Regions from separate parts of the Homo sapiens genome. Here regions 2, 3, 4 and 5 are each linked to region 1. Evidence: promoter capture Hi-C in 16 types of primary human blood cells and fetal thymus (Javierre and others, 2016). All regions are on one chromosome and are shown on one strand. Each heading gives the region's core, a stretch centred on a gene start or on the middle of the fragment in contact. The rest is flanking DNA. Distances are from core to core; before and after follow the strand shown.

The links. Contacts are between HindIII fragments. The CHiCAGO score rates a contact against its expected background, and 5 or more counts as called.
Region 2: a fragment that was not itself captured here is called in contact with the fragment with the promoter of PLCH1 in region 1 in 1 of 17 cell types (naive CD8 T cells); the score reaches 5.3 in naive CD8 T cells.
Region 3: a contact is called between a fragment that was not itself captured here and the fragment with the promoter of PLCH1 in region 1, in 1 of 17 cell types (neutrophils). The highest score is 7.4, in neutrophils.
Region 4: a fragment that was not itself captured here is called in contact with the fragment with the promoter of PLCH1 in region 1 in 2 of 17 cell types (non-activated CD4 T cells and naive B cells); the score reaches 6.1 in non-activated CD4 T cells.
Region 5: a contact is called between a fragment that was not itself captured here and the fragment with the promoter of PLCH1 in region 1, in 1 of 17 cell types (naive CD8 T cells). The highest score is 5.5, in naive CD8 T cells.

The regions. Positions count from the first base shown.
Region 1 is chr3:155,743,386-155,747,871 of GRCh38, reverse strand. It overlaps PLCH1 (phospholipase C eta 1), which reads left to right and starts at 2,801. Exons shown (of 23, transcript NM_014996.4): 1 at 2,801-3,032. RefSeq lists enhancers at 2,839-3,048, 2,943-3,564. The HindIII fragment of the contact is 4,475 bases long and covers 1,979-4,486 here.
Region 2 is chr3:154,349,105-154,353,253 of GRCh38, reverse strand. The region is part of intron 3 of GPR149 (G protein-coupled receptor 149); the gene reads left to right. It also overlaps the pseudogene DDX50P2. Among named protein-coding and RNA genes, the nearest start is that of DHX36, 27 kb to the right of the region's middle. The HindIII fragment of the contact is 5,725 bases long and covers 1-4,149 here.
Region 3 is chr3:154,230,703-154,234,807 of GRCh38, reverse strand. All of the region lies in intron 11 of ARHGEF26 (Rho guanine nucleotide exchange factor 26), which reads right to left. Among named protein-coding and RNA genes, the nearest start is that of DHX36, 92 kb to the left of the region's middle. The HindIII fragment of the contact is 4,105 bases long and covers 1-3,674 here.
Region 4 is chr3:154,306,142-154,310,436 of GRCh38, reverse strand. It overlaps DHX36 (DEAH-box helicase 36), which reads left to right. Exons shown (of 25, transcript NM_020865.3): 5 at 614-784; 6 at 4,142-4,221. Among named protein-coding and RNA genes, the nearest start is that of DHX36, 16 kb to the left of the region's middle. The HindIII fragment of the contact is 1,084 bases long and covers 1,073-2,156 here.
Region 5 is chr3:157,200,707-157,204,727 of GRCh38, reverse strand. The region is part of intron 2 of LOC101928236 (a long non-coding RNA gene); the gene reads right to left. Among named protein-coding and RNA genes, the nearest start is that of CCNL1, 43 kb to the right of the region's middle. RefSeq lists a silencer at 2,777-2,826. The HindIII fragment of the contact is 2,695 bases long and covers 234-2,928 here.

The sequences.
Region 1 (4,486 bases), core at 1,552-4,051:
TGCTGGGAGGACATTAAGTCAAAGAATCACAGCAAAAGATTTTTGTAACTACTGTACAGATGGATGTCCCTGTGCTTGAAGAGGCAGGGCTAATTCAACCCCAGACTTTTCAGCCAGGCGGATTTCAACCTTGTATTGAGCTACCAGCAGGAGTTCTTTATACTTGGAAAAGTGGTAAATCCTTACTAAAAGATCATAGCTTGCATGACCAAGAGATCCTCTAGAAAAGGTACTTTACTACCATGTAGGATGTTTGTCTTACCTGCCCAAAGAAGTTTTAATGAAGATCTCATTTTCTCCAGTTCCCCTTTAACCAGTGAAAGAGGAGGGTATTATTTGTTTTGTTTTTCTATTTATTCTTTGGTAACCATGGAAGAGTTTGTGTAACCTAGAGAGGCTGCTTATTACCCACTGTCTAATCCCTTTGTTATTATTCCATACTCTGATTGTCACAAGCAGGAAAAATAGTTCTGTCCTGCTTCTAAAAACTTAGCAATGTAACACATTTTCTTGTTTTTAGTGATTTTCTCCAATTAATTAATTAATTGTTTTAGTGATTTTTCTCAGATAAATAATGTTAAAACGACTTGGAGAGAAAAGCTACATTAAAAGATTATGGATGTATAAATGTCCTAAACATTTAAGAACATGCATAATTATGATTCATACCAACTTCAGAATTATTACCTTTGGGAAGGGGTGGGGGTAACGAGTCAGGAGTTGGGGTTTAGCTATATCTGTAATGCTTTATTTAAAAAAGAAGGGCTGGGGGGAGCAGGAGTATTACATGGTATATATCCTGTTTTTGGTAGGTTTGAAATATCACACAATTTAAAAATTTAAAAGTTTACAAAATTATGGGAGTTGATTAAAACTATCAAAATAAAGAATGCATAGCAAACAAGTGCTCTTATTATGAACTTTGTGTCTGAGTTTATTTCAACATGTGCATCTGCATTTTTTCAGACTCAAGAAAGACAAACACCGGAGGTTAGGGGGTGAACTGCTGCTGTTGAGGGATTATCTTGGTGGTTTTTTTTTTTTTTTTTTTTTTTTTGGCTTTTCTATTCACCATGGAGGTTACCAGCAAAACAAATCTCCAACAAGCTTGTTTACAAAATATAAAGCAGTTTGGAGGCAGAGGGTTAATGACTTAATTTCTTATAAATTGAGGCTTGTGTATGGGCATGCAAAAAAACAAAAACAAAAACAAGTAAATTTGGGGAGGTTTCTTTCTATAGAGGCAAAGGACCTTACCTACATTTTTTCCAAATTGATTTCTTCCTGGTACTATTGGCAGGAAGAAATTCAAGTGGGTATTCTGGTGGCTTTTTTCTTTTTTCTGAGAGTCTAGGATTGTTTTCAGGACAAAGTTTCTTCTTGCCCATGGTGCTTTGCTGTGACATTGTAATTGCCTCTGTTGAATTGAATAATACAAATGGGTTGTTTCTATGGTATCGGCTAAGTGGGATGAAAAGGTGAAACCCTAGATCTTGCGCTGAGAGGTCACAGTGCTACCACCCTCCACACTGTCTGTCAAAGAGAACAGGCAGCCAAGGCCCTGAGCTCCAATCTCAGGCACTCATTTGTAACTTACTCGTTTGTAACTTCCTGGGCAAATTCACGCATGAAAAAAGAAAATGACTTTAGTTTATGTTGTCACTAAGCCCAGAAAATCCCTGCCAACCCCATGCTGCCAGCTTTCCTAGGACATTCTTATTGGAGGATTATTTTAAACTGAAAGGTGAGTGAAGAGCTGCGTCCCCACTCCTTCCCAGCCAGGCTTTGAACTAACAATAGGGCAGGTTGAATGAAGGCTGATAAATGTAAATCCTGGAATCCAGAAGCCGGATCACACCGCGGCCGTCTAGGCCAGCGGCGGTTCCAGCATCCGCCCCAAGCTGGTCACTCATCCTTTCAGTGCATTCAGTAGATTTCATCGTTTCATCAACACTTGAGTGCCTGCTTCGTGCAAGCTTTCCTCTGCCACCGCCGCCTTCTTACTCCCGGCAGGTTGCCCGCTTGAGTCAACCAGCCACTAAACGGATCTAAGTGAATAAGTGGCCTGTTAATGCCAAGGAGTAGCATTTCCAAATGAAGAGACTGGGGGTAAATAAAAGCAAAGTGTTACCATTTACACGCTCTCAATTTTAGTTGCACTTCACTCAGAGTAGATCTCTTTAATTTGCGGCATCGACAGATGCTATATTCTTAGAAATTTTTTTTTTTTAAAGGAGGTAAGACGGGCGTTTGAGAACACTTTTTACTTTGGTGCAAGTTGCACGCAGTTCCCATTCACTCAGAGTAGATCTCTTTAATTTGCGGCATCGACAGATGCTATATTCTTAGAAATTTTTTTTTTTTAAAGGAGGTAAGACGGACGTTTGAGAACACTTTTCACTTTGGTGCAAGTTGCACGCAGTTCCCATTCCCTGCGCCCTTCACTTCCAACTTTGTTTCTCCAACTCCTTTACCCCCCACCACCGAGGCCCTCTGGCTACAGCCCCGAGGGGTTACCCTGGGTTTCGAAACTTTTGAAACTTGCGGGGGAGTAAAAGTACTTCATTCCCAGTGCTTCTGGCCCTTGCCAAGCGGGGAGCCCCGCAGGAGAGTGTAAGCCAAGGGTTCCAGGTGCAGCCTTGGGGTTCCACGTGCAGCCCTAGGGTTCCGTACACCCATCCCGCCCGGGCCAGAGGAGGCAGCAGGCGCTCCAGTCCGCTCTCCGCAACTCCAGTTCCTGATTTCCTCGGAAGCTGCGGGGCCGAGAGGGAGGGGGGCTCCTGTGTGAGCGTGAGGATTTGAATGAGAAAGCAGGTTGTGGCGGCGGCGCCCTGCTCTTCCCCGCTCGTCTGGGGCTTCTGCTGGCTAGTGGGGAGAAGTGCTCTTCTAGGGGGGCTTTTCTGGCCCTTGGCAGGGGTTTGGAGTTGGAGTCACAGGGGCCAATAACTCATCACCCCAGCACTTCGGAGGTGGCTCCTTGTGCCACGGACTCCGAGGAGTCCTTCAGCTACTGAACACTCAAAGCTGAGGAGGTCAGTGCTTTCGGGGGAAGAAGGGGCCCAGGAGAGAAGGGGGTGTGCAGGAAAAAGAGAACTGGTACGCCAGTCCGATGAGCGAGTGAGCAGGTGGCCCAAGTTCCTTTCTCGGCAGCCACAGCCGGCACACGCCTGTTTAGGACTGTGAGTGCTGTGCGTGGGGATCCCCTAAGGCCCCGTGCGGGGAACTGGCCACGGCCGCTCTTCAGGGTCCCATAATTCAGAAGGATGAGGGTGGGTGTGTGTGTCCGCGAAATAATGTAACTCTCGGGTCCCTTGCGGTGGTGGTGGGTGGCGTTTCGCCCGGTGGAAGGTCCAGCCTCGCTGCAGGATGCTTCACCCTCACGCGGGGTCCCGGGACCCTCTCTCTGACCGCCAGACGCCGCCAGGAGAGCAGGTCCGCGTTTCCCAGCAAGGGGAGTGCAGCGTCCGTTACACTTGGGGAGTCTCACAGCTTTTCCTGCGCCCGGTGACCCTGCTCAGGACCTCTTAGAGACTAGGTGTGCTCAGCGCGAGGAGGATATACTCCATTGCCCTTTCCTGGGAAGAACCAAGAGCGCCCGAGCGGCGCGGGGTGGTGGAGGCAAACCCCGGCCCCGCGGCGGCACGCTCTGCGCCTGCGCGGCGTTTCCTTGGCGACTGAGCTGCGGGTCCGAGACGCCACCCCGCGAGCCCCTAAACCCAGTTCCCTGTTGAGCGTCTGCGACGCCCTCTCCCCTCCTTCCCGAGGCTTTTTCTATTTGTTTCCTTCTGCGAATCAATTTGTGATCACATTTTGACGTTGAGAGTTCAGCATTAAAGCAATAACCAACTAAATTAAAAAAAAAAACCCAACTTTTCCCTTCCCTTGTTACCGTTTTGATCACGGACAGAAGAAAATGGTGAGAGATTAGTTATTAGGGCAGCAATTGAAATCCCCCTCTGTCCCGAAAAGGGGAGACGAATAAAACATTTACTTCCTGGTAAGGAGTTAGAAAATTCAGTGAAGTGATTGTTCTCGAGCGTTACAAGAACAAATCTGTGCCTCCTAACCCAGGTGAAGAGCAGAGCTTGTACAACCCAGCAGCACCCATGTCCTGTTTATTGGCATGTTTATGACAAGGAGATGCTCTGCAAAAGGGACCAGAGTATAATGCCAATGAAAAGAAACAAAGGATTTCCCAGAAGAGGCGGTAGTTTTTTTCAGTTGCCTCAGCGTTTTGGTCACCTTTGGGGTTAAAGTCTTCTGCAGAGAATGCTTCAAGAAGCCTTAACAGAAGCCAGTTTTCTCAAGCTGGTCATTTTCTTTTTCTTTTTTTCTTTTTTGAGACGGAGTCTGGCTCTGTCGCCCAGGCTGGAGTGCAGTGGTGCGATCTCGGCTCACTGCAACCTCCGCCTCCTGGGTTCAAGCTATTCTCTTGCCTCAGCCTCCCGAGTATCTGGGATTACAGGCTCCCGCCACCACGCCCAGC
Region 2 (4,149 bases), core at 986-3,485, 1.4 Mb after region 1:
CTGTGGAACACTTGGCCATTCAGTGTCATTGGTCTCAGAGGCCAGCAGTTATTGGAGATGTCCTTCAAGTCTACAGTGGGTCTGAAGGGAGGGCTATTATTTTCTGTGAGACCAGGAAGAATGTAACTGAAATGGCCATGAATCCACACATAAAACAGAATGCCCAGTGTTTACATGGGGATATTGCACAGTCACAAAGAGAAATTACACTAAAAGGCTTCAGAGAAGATAGTTTTAAAGTTTTGGTGGCAACCAATGTGGCTGCCCATAGTTTGCACATTCCTGAAGTAGACCTGGTGATTCAACATTCTCCTCCTCAGGATGTTGAGGCCCGTATCCATCGCTCTGGATGCACAGGTAGAGCTGGACAGGGATTTGTATATGTTTTTATCAACCAAGAGAAAGAGGTCAACTAAGATATGTGGAACAAAAAGCAAGAATTACTTTTAAATGTGTAGGTGTTCCTTCTACAATGGATTTAGTTAAATCTAAAAGCATGGATACCATCAGGTTTCTGACTTCCGTTTCTTATGCTGCTGTTGATTTTTTCTGACCATCAGCTCAGAGACTGATAGAAGAGAAAGGGGCAGTGGATGCATTGGCTGCAACTTTAGCCCACATTTCTGGTGCATCAAGTTTTGAACCACAGTCTTTGATCGCCTCTGATGACCATGACTCTGGAAAGCCTAGAGGAAATACAGGATGTCACCTGTGCCTGGAAAGAACTTAATAGAAAGCTAAGTAGTAATACAGCGTCTCAGATTACCAGTGTGTGCCTCCTGAAAGGAAATATGGGTGTTTGCTTTGATGTTCCTACAACTGAATCAGAAAGGTTACAGGCAGTGTGGCACGATTCCAACTGGATACTCTCAGTGCCAGCCAAATTACCTGAAATTGAAGAATATTATGATGGAAACAAGTCTTCTAATCCCCAACGGAGGAATGGCTGGTCAAGTGGCTGGTCAGGCGGGTCAGGCCAGTCAGGTGGTCCATCTGGTGGCCTATCAGGTAGACAGAGTCGACAAGGGAGTCACTCAGGAAGTCGACAAGATGGTAGAAGATGAAGTGGGAATAGAACTCGATCAAGAAGTGGGGGCCACAAATGGAGTTTTGACTGAATATTTGATACTTAATCTACCAGTGTGAACTTGCCTATTTGTGCCTAATTATGTATATTATCCACCAAAAATTAGCTCATGATAGTTGAGGTATGTGTCTGCTATTTGCACAGAAGTTGGTCGTATTTTTTTTAAAAAGTGTTTCACAAGAATAGCTATAAACAAATCTACCTATTCAGTTATACCTTTGAATTAAAAAACCTCCTTTTATTATCTTTTTAGAAAAAATGAGAATATTAGATAATTAAAGACATTTGAAAAGATAACATTTTGTTCTTCATTTTATACAGCTATAAAATTGGATTTTGAGGGGTTTCTATTATTCCTTCCACTGAAATTATCTCCTCTACTTCTCTTAATTGTGAACCCTATAAAATAACAAAATTTATTTGTCCATTAAATTATTTATCCCTGTAATTTTAGGACTGTAAGGAGCCAAACAGATTGTCTGTCTTTTGCTATTCAAAGTATGGTTCCTACACCAGCAGCTTCAGCATCATCTGAAAACTTTTAGTAAGTGCAGAATCTCAGGTTCAACAATAGACTCCCTGAATCAAAATTTGCATTTGCACAAAACAAGTTTTTAATTTAATGAAGTCCAGTTTATCAAATATCCTTTTATGGATCATGATTTTTGTGTCAAGTCTAATAACCCCTTCCTAGCCTTAGATCTCAAAGATTTTCTCCTATATCTTTCAAATAAAATTTTTAGTTTTACATTTTACATTTAAGTTTACAATTCATTTTGAGTTAATTTTTGAATAAACTATGAAACAGATGTAGCTGGTTATTTTTTTTTTTTTTTTTTTTTTTTTTTTTTTTGTATGTGGATGTCTAATTGCCCTAGCACTGTTAATTGAAAAGGCTAACTTTCCTCCATTGAATTGTTTTTGTACCTTTGTAAAAAGTCAGTTGGGTATATTTGAGTGAGTCTACATTTGGATTTTCTATTCTGTTCCATTTTTCTGTGTCTCTATCCCTCTAGCAACAACTCAATTTTGATTATTATAGCTATATTGAAATTAGATATCCTGATTCCTCCCATTATACAGTCAACTCTCTGTATCTGTGGGTTCCTATATGTGAATTCAGCCAACTTTGGATCAAAAATATTCAGATACAAAATTATGCCTGTACTAAACACATACAGACATTTTTCTTGTCAGTATTCCCTAAACAATATAGTAAACAGCTATTGACATAGCATTTACATGATATTAGGTATTATAAGTAATCTAGAGATGATTTTAAAGTATATGCGAGGAGGTGCACAGATTATATACACATACTATGCCATTTTATATAAGGGACTTAAGCATCTGAAGATTTTGCTATCCACAGGAGGTCCTGGAACCAATCCCCCACAGATACCAAAGATCAACTGTATTTATTTTTTCAAAATAATTTTAGCTATTCTGGTTCATGTACCTTTTCATTTTAATTTTAGAATGATCTTGTCTATAACTGTGAAAATATCTTGCTGGGATTTTTGTAGGAATTATATTAAATGTATAGATCAATTTCTACAGAATTGATATCTTTACTGTCAAGTCTTCCAGTCTATGAACACAATATGTCTCTTCATTTATTCAGATTGTCAACTTTTTAAAGTGTCATGTAGTTTCCAGTATATTAGTCCTATACATGTTTCATAAGATTTACATCTAAATCTTTAACCTTTTTAGCAATTGTAAATGGTACTGCATTTTTTATTTTGATGTCCAAGAGTTCATTGCTAGTCATAGAAGTACAAATGATTTTGTACATGTATCTTATATCCTGTGACCTTGCTTAGCTCAATCATTAGCTTGAGGATTTTTTGTCGATTCCTTGGGATTTTCTACATAAATCAATCATGTCATCTGCAAGTTGCAAAAGTTTCATTTCTTCCTTTCTGGTCTGTACAATTTTTGTTTCCTTTTCTTTTCTTTTTTATTTTTGAGACAGGGTTTCACTCTGTCACTGAGGCTGGGTGCAGTGGCATGATTATGGCTCACTGTAGCCTCAAATCCCCAGGCTCAAGTGATCCTCTCACCTCAGCCTCCTCAGTAGCTGGGATTACAGGCACACACCACCATGCCTAGCTAAATTTTTTTATTTTTTGTACAGATAGAGGTGGAGGCTACAGTGAGCTGTGAGCATAGCACTGCACTCAGCCTTGGTGACAGTGCAAAACCCTATCTCAAATAAGTAAAGAAATAAATATTGATGCAGCCTTGAATTTCTGAAAGAAACCCTGCTTGATCATTGTACATAATTCTTTTTATAGATTGCTGAATTCTATTTGCTAATATTTGTTAAGGATGCTTGCATCTATATTCATGAGTGATACTAATCTATAGTTTTATTTTTTTGTAGTGTCTGTAGAGTTTGATTATTAGGGTAAAACTAGGTTTATAAAATGAATCAAGAAGTATTCCTTTGTCTTGTATTTTCTGTAAGAGATTGTGCAGAATTTATATTAATCCTTACTTAACTATTTGCTAGAGTTCTCCAGAGAAAACATAAGGCTGAAGAGATTTCTTTTTGAAGGTTTTAAACTACAAGTTTAATTATCTTAATAGTTACAGGGCTATTCAAATTACCTATTTCGCATTTGGCACATTGTAGTAGTTTGTTTTACAAGGGATCAATCTATTTCATGTAAGTTGTCAAATTTGAATGTGTAAAGGTGTTTGTAGTACTCCCTTATGGTACTTTCGATGGCTGCAGACTCTGCAGTGATATCCTGTTTCATTCCTAATACTGGTAATCTGTGTCTTCTCTTTGTCACTGCTGCTAGAGGCTTTTCAATTTTATTGATCTGTTAAAAAAATAACTTTTTGTTTCATTAATTTCCTCTTTGTTTTTCTGTTTTCAATGTCATTGATATCAGCTTTTATCTATTTTCCTCCTTTATATTTGCTTTCAGTTTATTTTGCTCTTCTTTTTCCAGATTATCAAGGTGGGAGGCTAGACTATTGGTTTAAGACTATTACTCTTTTCTAATGTATGCATTTAGTGCTTTAAATTTCTCTCTCAGATCTTCCCT
Region 3 (4,105 bases), core at 373-2,872, 1.5 Mb after region 1:
GGCGACAAAGTGAGACTCCGCTTCAAAAAAAATTAAAATTAAAATTAAAAAATTAAAAAATAAACATACTGTAAAGCTGCAGAAATTCAAAGACTGGGACAAGGGCACGAGTTGACTGATGAATTGTGAAGCAGAATAGTGGGTTTGCGAGTTGACACAGACATGTCTGGGGATATAGAGGTGACATTTCAAATCTCTAAAAAAATTAATGGGTTAATCAATAAATAATATTGGGACATTTGGGGAAACATATCAAATATTTTTTTAAAATGTTGATCCCAATCTCACTCCTTAAACCAGGATATTTCCTTGGACCCAAGCTCTGGGTACATAAAGAGTTGTGAAGAAAAACTAAGTGACAAGACAGGTCTTTCTGCTGGATACAGACCTTTAACGGCCTGCCTTGTGGTCAGAGAGGTGCTGTTAAACATGTACATACCTTAGGGCAAGTTCTCATCTTAATCCTTATTAGCAAGCATTTTAGATACTTAATACGGATGAACAGGAATGGAAAATAGGCTAGCTTACCAAGATGCACCCAGGATAGTGAAAGGAAGGATGGTGATGGGGAGGCAAGGGAAAGGGTTAGACTGCACAAGCCAGCTTTCCCACAACCCACGTCTCTCAGCCCCAGCTGTAGGTGTAACTCTCACGTACCCGCTTACATTGTTTTAAAACTCTGTTTTATGGCCCAAATCCGACAGATGGAAACCCAAGCAGCACTTCCAGTTCTTCCTTTTGTAAAAAGGTTTAATTTAAAAGAAAAGATGCTATTGAGATTTATCACATCATTGATATTCATATGATTTTTGGCATATATTCTCAAGATAGTGACATTTATTTTTTACCTATTCAGTAGTTTCCTTTCCATAGGCTTTAGAACATTCACATAGCTTTTCTGTCCCGAAAAAAATATTTACTAGAATGTGCTGGTGCCACAACAAATGTTTCCTGAGTTAGCAGCTGCCTGCGTTTTTTCAGACCCTTGTGCTTACAGGCCAGTGAAATGGCTTCCGAAGGCCACCATGGCCCATCACCCCACCAAATTAAACACCTGGATTTCACCATTATTTCTCTTTGCATGTATACAGAATCTAGTGACACTGAGCAACTGTGAATCCTGAAACTCTATCTTCTAATGCCTTCTGTGACATTTCTAAGTCATTCTTCTTTGGGGACACTCTCCAAGATCCTCTTCTAGACTGTCGTGCATTAAATCCCTCTGAGGAATTTAATGGCTCTGACATTCCCCCCCAGTAGCACTGATACACAGGAGTTAATGGGGTTTATGAGATCAAAGGAAATTCTTCCTACTTTCCTCCAATATATGTATGAGAAAAAGTGTTCTGTAGATTTCAACTTGTTTCCCTTCTCCTTCTAAAAAACATGATTCCTAAACCGTCGCACTTGATCGTGTGTTTAAATGGAACAGAAACACTCTAGTCAAACTTTGCTGGGATGAAGGACATTGAATTTATGCTGAAATTTATTTTAAGTCAAGGAGTTAAAAATTTTTTTTCACTTGACTGAGGTTGATTTCCATTTCAATTTGGTTTTAGAATTATACTACTAACATGTTTTTAGTGGAATAATATACAATTTTAAAGGAATGAAATATGGCACAGCAGGTAAGAGTAGAGCCATGATTTGGAATGTCTGGTAAGAAACCCAATTCTAGGCTGGATGCAGTGGCTCACACCTGTAATCCCAGCACTCTGGGAGGCAAAGGCAGGTGGATCACGAGGTCAGTAGATCCACACCATCCTGGCTAACATGGTAAAACCCCGTCTTTACTAAAAATAGAAAAAAAAAATTAGCCGGGCGTGGTGGCAAGCACCTGTAGTCCCAGCTACTCCGGAGGCTGAGGCAGGAGAATCGCTTGAACCCAGGAGTTGGAGGTTGCAGTGAGCCGAGATCATGCCACTGCACTCCAGCCTGGGTGACTCCGTCTCAAAAAAAAAAAAAGAAAGAAAGAAACCCACTCACTCACTGGCTTTGTGAACCAAAGCAAGTTACTGATCCTCTCTGTGCTTCAGTTTTCTCATCTGTAAAGTGGGAATAACAGTACCAACTTGACTGGATTGTTGAGAGGATTAAATGAGATAATACATTTATTACCTCATTGTGTGTAAGGCACTTACAATCATGCCTGACTTACAGTAAATGTCAGCTATTTTTTTTATTTTCTTAACAGAACGCCATCCATTTAAATTGCCTGACATTTTGTTAAAAGCCTGATAATTATATGTTTTGCAAATGCACAAGTGGACCAAGCATAATTAGAGCTAAATACCCATGTCAAGAAATCCACAATTTGGCAAGTGCTCAGACCAGCAAAACAAGGCACAATATTTATCCAGAAACTGATTTCAAATAGGCTTACTTGCTCAGTTCCTCAAGCTAATTCTGAAGTCTAACAAACATGCCACATACATCCTATTTCATTGTTAATAATATAACAAATAGTGGAGATGAGGATCCCCATTCATCAGTATGACTGCCACCAAAAAAGATGGCCAGTGACCCAGAAAAGGGCCAGGAAGCCCCATCCCTGTCACCAAGGGTCACCAGATGCCACAGCCCAGCACTTCTGTGGCTGCTCATGGGATGCTCTGAACCCATAGTCCTTGAAAAAGAGGAGATGGACAGTTCTGAGAGGCTGTCACCACCTTTCTGAAGCTCTCTCCCTGGGATAAGCTGAACTAAGCAAGCCCTGAAGAGCAGGCACAGCTTCTTAAGTGGGTAACAAGGTTATCCAAATTATACAGCAACCCCACACTCCAATTCAGGAGTACCACACTACTGACGACATCAATAAAAAGGAAAAATATACTATTTATTTCACATTTTTCAGCAACAATGTTATAGTGTCTCCTAGTCATTTAGGAATAGTGAAAAAAAAAAAAAACTGCTACTACAACGTGTACACATGATTTACACCAATTTATAAAGAATAAAAATTGACCAATAGTTTTTCCTCACTCACTTGCCGCCTGACATGGGTTTCATGAGGAGGGAAAGGCATAGAGTTAAAGGCATTTATTCCTAAACTGCTCATGTTCTGGAGGCCATAAATTCATGTCTGGTCCTAGAGCGTGCCGTACCTTCAGCTATGTAGCAATTACGTAAAGGTTTAAAATCATTTTTTAAAAACAATAAAATATTCTAGAAGCAGAAGGGCAATAATTTGATTTACGGCAAAATCTTTAGAGAGAGAACACAATACCAAAAATAATCTTAATGATAGCATGTATCAGTTACTTAGCAGGACTATTCATATTCACTGTAGTAAGAGCTTTATGTGCATTATCTCATTTAATTCTCACAGAAACTCCATGATGAAGATGATGTTATTATCCCCATATTACAGATAGAACACTGAGGCTCTGAGAGACGAGAAGTAATTTGCCCAGGATTTGAGCTCAGTTTTCTGACCCCAGGCATCGATATTGTGCTTCTCAGTAGTGGCAGCTTTCAACATTTAACAGCAATGCCAACTCTCCTTACAGATGCAGGGGAAACAATACCTCATAACATCAGAGGAATCAAGGCTGCAAATGACAGCGGAAGAAAAAAAGGAGCAAAAAGGAAACAGGGCTCCCATTTCTTTTCCACCCCATCTTGCCATCTTGAATTTAGAACTCAATTCCAAAATGGTCAGAAATAAGCAAGCTTCATGTGTTTCAGGAACAAAGGAGCTTGCAATCATTTTTACTGCCTTTCCTTTAGCCAGGATACTCTTGACTTCCCTAGGAACGAGTTTATTCTGCAGATGAAACAGGTATCAGGTGATTTTCAGCTTTCTATAATAGGAAAGAGCATTCTCATGGAAAAAGCAAAAAATGGAACCAAACCAGGCCATGAACCTTTCAAGGGAGCCTGCACAGCTTTGAGCCACTGGGTGTTCAAACTATTTGGGAAAATCCAAATTTGAACTTAAGTCCTTGACCTTATGATAATGACCTAGTAGTTTGCTATTACAGAAAATTTTATAAAACCTGAAAAAAAAATTAAAAATTTTGAAAACCTTTTTATAAAACCTAGAAAGTTGTAACCAGGGCTCAAGCTATACACAGTATTTATGGAACCAGAAATCAGGAAGTAG
Region 4 (4,295 bases), core at 365-2,864, 1.4 Mb after region 1:
TAACATCCCTTTGAGGTAGTAAGATGACTTCGTTTATACAGTGAATATTATTATTAAAAATATTAATGTATACAATTTTGAGGAAGAATGAAACCCAAATATGAGGTTTTCTAGATAGCTTTGGTTTAGATATTCAATGACTTTATTTTAATTATTTGAAAGGAAGTAATTTTAAAATACAATATTCTCTTCCTTGCTCCTAAAATGGCATACAAAACTTGTTCTGCAGACAAAGCCATATTTATGAATTATATAAATTTGTAATGTCCTCAATAGTTGTTTAGGCCAGGAGTTTGCTTCTGTACTCAGTAGCCCCACATATCAACATTATTTTAATTCTTCTCCATGGAACTTATAAGCTGTCTCTTCTTGTTTATGTCAATATGTTTTTCTTTAACAGTGCTTTGGCTTTGTTCTTTATAATTTGGTGCACTTATCTCTTGCAGGTTGGTAGATCCAGATATCCAAACTGCCAGTATTGGATATGGCAAAATTTAGAAAGCATTAATATGTTTGTTAAAAATAGCTATGTTCAGTTTGGTCGAATTTTGATTAATATCTTTTTTCAGACTTAGTCAACATGTGATATTCTTTATTTTCCCTTTTGAAATAGGAATTGGTAAATTTAATTGATAACCATCAGGTAACAGTAATAAGTGGTGAAACTGGTTGTGGCAAAACCACTCAAGTTACTCAGTTCATTTTGGATAACTACATTGAAAGAGGAAAAGGATCTGCTTGCAGAATAGTTTGTACTCAGCCAAGAAGAATTAGTGCCATTTCAGTAAGTAATCTCTTAACTTATTAAAAATTGTCTTTTTAAAAGTAATCTTGCTAGAACCTACTGATTCTGAAGGTGTGGAGTGATTCTTAATTAGGCTTAGGATTGGTGACTATGAAAGCAAATAGTTGCTTAACATGTTTAATAATAAAGCCCAAAAAATTGAGTAACCTCTCTCTTAACAGATAATAGATATTTATGAATTCAAGATAAAATTGATATCCAGGCAAATTTCAGTACATGTTCACAAGAATGAAATAGATAAAATATTTATAGAATTGATTACAAGCTTCAAATAATCTCCATCATTTGATTCTTTAAATTTTACTACTTGGTTTATTTAACTTTTTTTTTTACTTCTGTCATTTTTTGAGTATGTAAATACACTGAATGGTGGTGAAAGTGGGAAACCTTGTTTTTTTTTTTAAGCTGCATTTCTGTAGTCAGTGATTTATTTATTTATTTTTTGAGACAGGGTCTTATTTTGTCACTTAAGCTGGAGCGCAGTGGTGATAACACGGCTCAGTGCAGCCTCAACCTCTAGGGTTCAAGTGATCCTCCTGCCTCCGCCCCCCAAGTAGGTGGTACTATAGGCATGTGCTACCATACCTGGCTAATATTTGTATTTTTTGTAGAGATGGGGTTTTGCCATGTTGCCCATGCTGGTCTCGAACTACTGGGCTCAAGCGATCTGCCCACTTCAGCCTCCCGGAGTGCTGGGATTACAGGCATAAGTCTCTGTGTCCAGCCATAGTCAGTCATTTTTGAATGCAGCTACTCAGTAAGAGGAAATTTATGAGGAAAAATAAGGTATTGTTTCTGGTTTGTCAAGTCCAAAATTTTGGGAAGGCATACTTAAGTAACAGTTTATAAGTAACTTTTAGTTCAGGTTGACTATACGAAATCCAGAATGCTCCCAAATCCAGAACTGTTTGAGTAGCAAAATGGAAATGCTCACTAGAGCATTTCACATTTTGAATTTTCAGATTTGGGATGTTTAACAAGGGCAAGTATAATGCAAATATTCCAAAATAGAAACCGGAAACACTTCTGGTCCTGATCATTTTGGCTAAGGAATACTCAGCCTGTACATTGATTTTGTTGTCGTCATCGTTTTTAGTTAGATGACCTAGTTAAATATGTGAGTTATATATTTTTTAAAGGTGTTTGGGGTTTCTTGTCATATTTCAGTGTGCATAGTGAATTTATTTATGCTATATAATTCTGTGTATAAATTATAAAGATTTGTGTTTGTCTTTGGTTTTATGGCAGTGCTGCTTATCACATGTCTAAGTCATTTAATATAGAATCTGTGGTTAAAAACATTACCAATTATGACAGCACTTGGCAGTAAATACAGTATATGTTTTAAGCTTTGGTTTCTAAGAAGTACTATAAAGAAAGAGCAGTAGACTTCACCCCTTTTTAAAAAGAAGTGTGTAAATTTATGGGATACAAGTGCAATTTTGTTACATGCATAGGTTGTGTAGTGGTTAAGTGAGAGCTTCTAGGTTGTCCATCACCCACATCATATACATTGTACCCATTAAGTAATTTCTCATCATCTGTCCTCCTCCTGTCTTCTCTTCTGAGTCTCCATCGTTTGCCATTCCACACTCTATGTCCACATATACCTGGTTTTTAGCACCCACTTATGTGAAATATGATATTTTGTCTTTTTGTGTCTATTTCGACATGATTTCACTCTTACAGCTAAATAGTATTCCATTGTGGTGTATATATACACCACATTTTCCTTATCCAGTCATCCATTGATGAGCACTTAGATTGATTCCGTATCTTTACTGTTATGAATAGTACTGTGATAAACATGCAAGACAAGTATTTTTTTTTTTTTGACACATTGATTTCTTTTCCTTTGGGTAGAAACCCAGCAGTGGGATTGCTGGATCAAATGATAGCTCTATTTTTAGTTCTTTGAGCAATCTCCATACTGTTTTCTATAGAGGCTGTGCTAATTTGCATTCCTACCAACAGTATGTAAGAGTTCTCTTTTATCCATGTCCTGGCCAAGATCTATTATTTTTTGACTCTTTAATAGTAGCCATTTTGACTGGGGTAAGATGATATCTCATTGTGGTTTTAATTTGCATTTCTCTGATGATTAGTGATGTTGTGCATTTTTCATATACCTGTTAGTCATTTGTATATCTTCTTTTGAAAAATGTCTGTTCTTGTCTTTTGCCCTCCTTTTAAGGGGATGATTTGTCTTTTATTGTTGTTGTTTGAGTTTCTTGTATATACTGGGTATTTGTCCACTGCTGGATGAATAGTTTGCACATATTTTCTTCCGTTCTGGAAATTATCTGTTTACTCTGTTGATTATTTCTTTTGTTGTGTAGAAACTTCTTAGTTAATTCCCATTTGTCTATTTTTATTTTTGTCGCCTGTGCTTTTGAGGTCTTAGTCATAAATTCTTTGCCTAGACCAATGTCCAAAGGAGTTTTTCCCTAGGTTTTCTTCTAGTAGTTTCAGTTTCAGGTAGTCTTCACCCTTTTATGGGGACTATATTCCAGGAAATTGCATAAAATTACAGAATGGTGAAAAATAAACCACTTTTGTCATAACACACTTTTGTAGCTAGACTTAAATATTTTCACTAATATATAGCAGTTACTGTATATGCTGATAGTAGGAAGAAATGCTAAGTAGGTAATTTTTCTCTTCTTTTTTCCACCATCTGTTGGAATTTGAGTAGACAGGTTAATGTGGTCTGTCAGTGTATACTAGATATACTTATTGGAAAGTTTTACTTGTAAAGTATTATTTCTTACAAATTATGCCATTTTCTATTTCTAATACCTTATTATCACTGTTCTGTCACAGAATAACTGTTGGTTACTTTTAGTTGTACAAATCAGTATTAGATTATAACATTTCATCTTTCCAAATCTTATTTTTGGCAGTCATAACTTTCAAAACATGACCAAGAACTAGAAATTCAACACCAGTCCCTACCACAAACAAAAACACAAGGGAAGAGTATCAATATGTAATTACTTTCAAATTACACATAACTTCTACAAGTTTAGATCTTGATTTACAACTCTTAGAAAAGACCAGAAAAGTATAAATTAATGAGAGGATGCTATAGAAAGGCACTTTGAAACTAGTGATGAGAGAACTTGGCCTTAAAAGACTTTATAAGAGGAAATGAAAAATAAACAGCTCTTAAGAGAGGCACACACTGTTTTAGATACCTCAGATTTTAATATCTATTTTTTTAACTCATTTAGAAATCTGAAGAACAATTTTTCAACAGTCCTAGATTTTCATGGACATTCAGGATATTTGTTCTAAAGGAAATTATATTCTCTTTATGTTTTATTTGAATTAAAGGTTGCGGAAAGAGTAGCTGCAGAAAGGGCAGAATCTTGTGGCAGTGGTAATAGTACTGGATATCAAATTCGTCTCCAGAGGTAAGAAATGTTCACTTCTTATATACAGGCAGATTTTAGTGAAACTTTGAAGCTGGAGATTCAAAAGAAAGGAT
Region 5 (4,021 bases), core at 332-2,831, 1.5 Mb before region 1:
GTAATTTTAGATGCATTTAATCTGAGTGGAATTTGGATTTCACAGTTGTGGCAATATGCAAAGCTCTAGTGATAGTCAGGAATCTTTGCCCTGAAAGGATTTAGGGTGTGTGTATTTAGATAGTTTACATCTTTAAAAAACAAAACAAAACAATTTAGAACCTTTGCGGAAGCATCAATTTAATAGTAAAATGCTGCCTCCTTCTGGATAAATTGTATGAAGCATGATAAGCTTGTTAAACTGCTGTAAAGGTATATCATCTTATGAAAAGAAATCCTTAATAAATTTCTTAAATTAAAAACTAATAAAACTAGAAATCTAGAGTAAGCCTTGAAAGATTACCTAGATTCTGTCTTTTAGTCAGTAAAACATTTAAATTATTTATGTTATATAGATGATTTGATTATCTGTCCTATTGAAGATCTTTTAATAGTAACTGAGAAAGTACAGAATAGATGACAAAACTGAAATTAAAGGTCCATCTCTACAAAAAATTTAAAAAATTAGTAGGGCACGGTAGCATGCACGTGTAGTCCTGGCTACTGAGGAGACTACGTGGAGGCTGAGGTGGGAGGATCATTTGAGCCCAGGAGTTGAAGGTTACAACTCTATGATCACACCACTGCATTCCACCCTGGGCAACTGAGTGAAACTCAGTCTCTATTTTTAAAAAAATAGAATTAGCATAATTTTCATGTTCACATCTTGAAATGTTTAAATACTCAATTGTCATTGTCATTTATACATATGCACATATTAATACTATATACCTAGAAAAATGAGTGTGTATATGTGTGTTTAGCATATTCAATGAAATGCCTAGGTTCTAGTCTTACTTCTATAGCCATATATCATGTGAATTTGGGCAAACCACGTAATCTCTTTCATCCTAGTTTTCTTATCTGTAAATTGAGGATAATAAACCCATGGTTATTGACTTTGAAAACTGTATGTGAGGCTCACTAAAATTAATAAAGCAGGCAGGGTGCAGTGGCTGATGCCTATAATCCCAGCACTTTGGGAGGGCAAGGTGGGAGGATCACTTGAGACCAGGACTTCGAGACCAGCCTAGGCAACATGGCAAGACCCCTCTACAAAAATTTTTTTTAAAAAAACTAGACAGGTGTGGTGGCACATGCCTGCAGTCCCAGCTACTTGGGAGGCTGAGGTGGGAGGATCGCTTGAGTCTGGGACGTCAAGGCTGCAGTGAGCCATGATTGCCCCACTGCACTCCAGCGTGGGCAACAGAGTGAAACTCTGTCTCAAAATAAATAAATAAATACAATACAATAATGCAATACAATACAATCAACAAATCCCTATGTGAGGTAGTAACCTAATTTCTTATCCTTAAGGCTTTATATGATCACATGTCCAAAGTGAAAGAATAGAACCATATCTGTGACCAGTAAGAAGAAAAATGCTTAATGGTGTCTTATTTATTGAATGACCACAGCTAGTTTGGTTGCACTCAAATCAATCAACTCTATGATCTAAACAGAGAGAGAAAGACGTTACAAATAACCCCAGACCACAATTATACAAAAGCAAAATCCACTCTCAATTCTCCAGAGATGATTTACCCCCACAGAGCCAAAAGAGCAGGTAGGTCTAACCAAAGCTGTTCTTGCCAGGGACCCAGAGAGAGCCTTGTTTGCACAGCCTCATCCTTGAGCCAACATTCCCAGACTCTTCCTAGAGCATTGCCTAGATCTAGACTCTGCCTAGATCATAGGATGATCAAGTGCTGACTGTGTCCTTGTTATATTAAAGGGTCTTTCATGATTCTCTGAGGATCCTTCCACCAAAGCACTACCCAAAATCCAAACCAGCTAAAAGACCAAAGGATACTCCAAATGCTCCAATTCCTATTCGGCCTCTCTCTAGTGGGCATGAAATTTAACCACTCTGTGCCCCAATTTGCCTATAAAATGGGTGCAACCACAATACCTACCTCATTAGGTTATTGTGAAGATCAAATGAATTAATACAAGCAGAGCATGCAGAACAGTACCTGGCATATAAGCATTTAATCTATGTTGGCTGCTGCTCTCAAGGCCACTATTATTATAATCATACTAATGTGCTTGTGCATGGCACTTACTTATGGACAAATGATATGTCTCTCTCACAGCTACTTCATTTGCTAAGACTGAAGCCTGATCCTTTAAATCCTCTGTCTATCAATGATTAAAATACGGTCCTATATTAGCTTCCTAACATTACATATATGCTTTAATTTTTCAATGGCAAAATAGTAAATTATAACTATGGGTGCTATTTGGGTTTTTTGTTTGGTTGGTTGGTTGGTTGGTTTTGAGACAAGGTCTCGCTCTGTCACCCAGGTTGGAGTGCCGTGGTGCAATGTCGGCTCACTGCAAACTCTGCCTCCTGGCTTTAAGTGATTCTCCCACCTCAACCTCCCCGAGGAGCTGGGACTACAGGCATGCACCACCATGCCTGGTAATTTTTTGTATTTTTAGTAGATATGGGATTTCACCATGTTGGTTAGGATGGTCTTGAGCTCCTGGCTTCAAGTGATCCACCTGCCTCGGCCTCCCAAAGTACTGGGATTACAGGTGTGAGCCACTGTGCCCAGCTTACGGGTACTATTTGATGGCATACTAGTCAAACCAAGCAACAACTCTGTTTTATAGCCATATAAGCAGATGACCCTGGAATAAAAGCTGGGACTTACGCACATTTCAAGCTGTTAAACATTTTTTATCATATTCCAATTTCGTTTCACTCTGAAAGCAGAAGTGGCTATCATATGATTGACTCAAAACTATTTGGTATATCACCCTAAGATAAATACCAGAAGGCACCAAAACTGTTTTGAATGAGGACTAAAGATGACATTTGGCCACTAGATGGCATTTAAATTATGTAGCAGGCTTTAGCTCACACTTCAGCTATTTAAAAGCTTAATTGGTTTGCATTTAGCCCAAGCACTGGCGATTCATGTATTTTCATGCTGTGGGAATTCTCGGAAGTTGGCTGAATTGAGACTTAGGAATATCCACAGCAGGTTTTACAGTGACAGACATAAAATCCTTTTGGAGTTATGAAATGAGATTAGCAATTTTAAATTCTTGCCTGAAATCTTCAGATCAGTTTTTTTCTTTTTGGAAGTAAATTATTGAGGGTAATATTGAGAGACTGGATAACTTACATCTTTTCAATCCATTTCTGTGCAACATGAAGTCTTAATAAGCACAGAGCAGCATAATTCATGGGCAGCTTGTCTCAGTTGGCCACGGGTACCTCTCAGCGTCTACCTTTTTACTGGGTCCAGCAATCTAATCATATCTACCATTTCCTTTTCAATTAATTCCTAGGAAAGACCAGCCGTGGACTAGTACAACATCCCAGAGGCGAACAGAATCAAATCTAATCCCCACTGAATAATAATTTGTTAAAAAACTGCTATAAAGAAGGGAGAACAGTCCAGTCAGTTATTGTTTTTCATTTCCCACAAGGAAATTAACGGTAAAACATGTTAAATTTCAACTGTAAGATTTTAAGGTAGCCATGAAGATGAAATGAAATAGATACTAAAGTAAACCACAAAATAAATGTGCATGTGTGTTCTTTCCATATAGTAGAAGAGATACTCTTCTATTTGGCGAGATTTTGCAGAGACACCAAGAATATAGTAAGTGATGCTTTCTAACTCTTTTTGTAGGTTTCAGGGGGCTTTCTTTTGGTCAAAGCCTATGGTGCTGAATTCAGCTTGTCCACTAGGCAACCCTAATATATGCTAAGTATCCTTTAACTAGTCAAGCATTTATTCCCATGATAAAATAAACTATGATGTATTTAATTATACATGTCATTGAAGAAGTCCTCTTTTAAAGAAAAACCATGAAGTGATTACCTGAAAAGCATAATAACAAATTGATTACCTAATAAGATGGAAAACTGAACATGAGCTTTTGTCTCCACTCCATTCCAACGCTCTCTCAAAAGATAGAAGAGGAAAGTAAAAGTTATAAATCCACACAGAAATAAAGAGTGG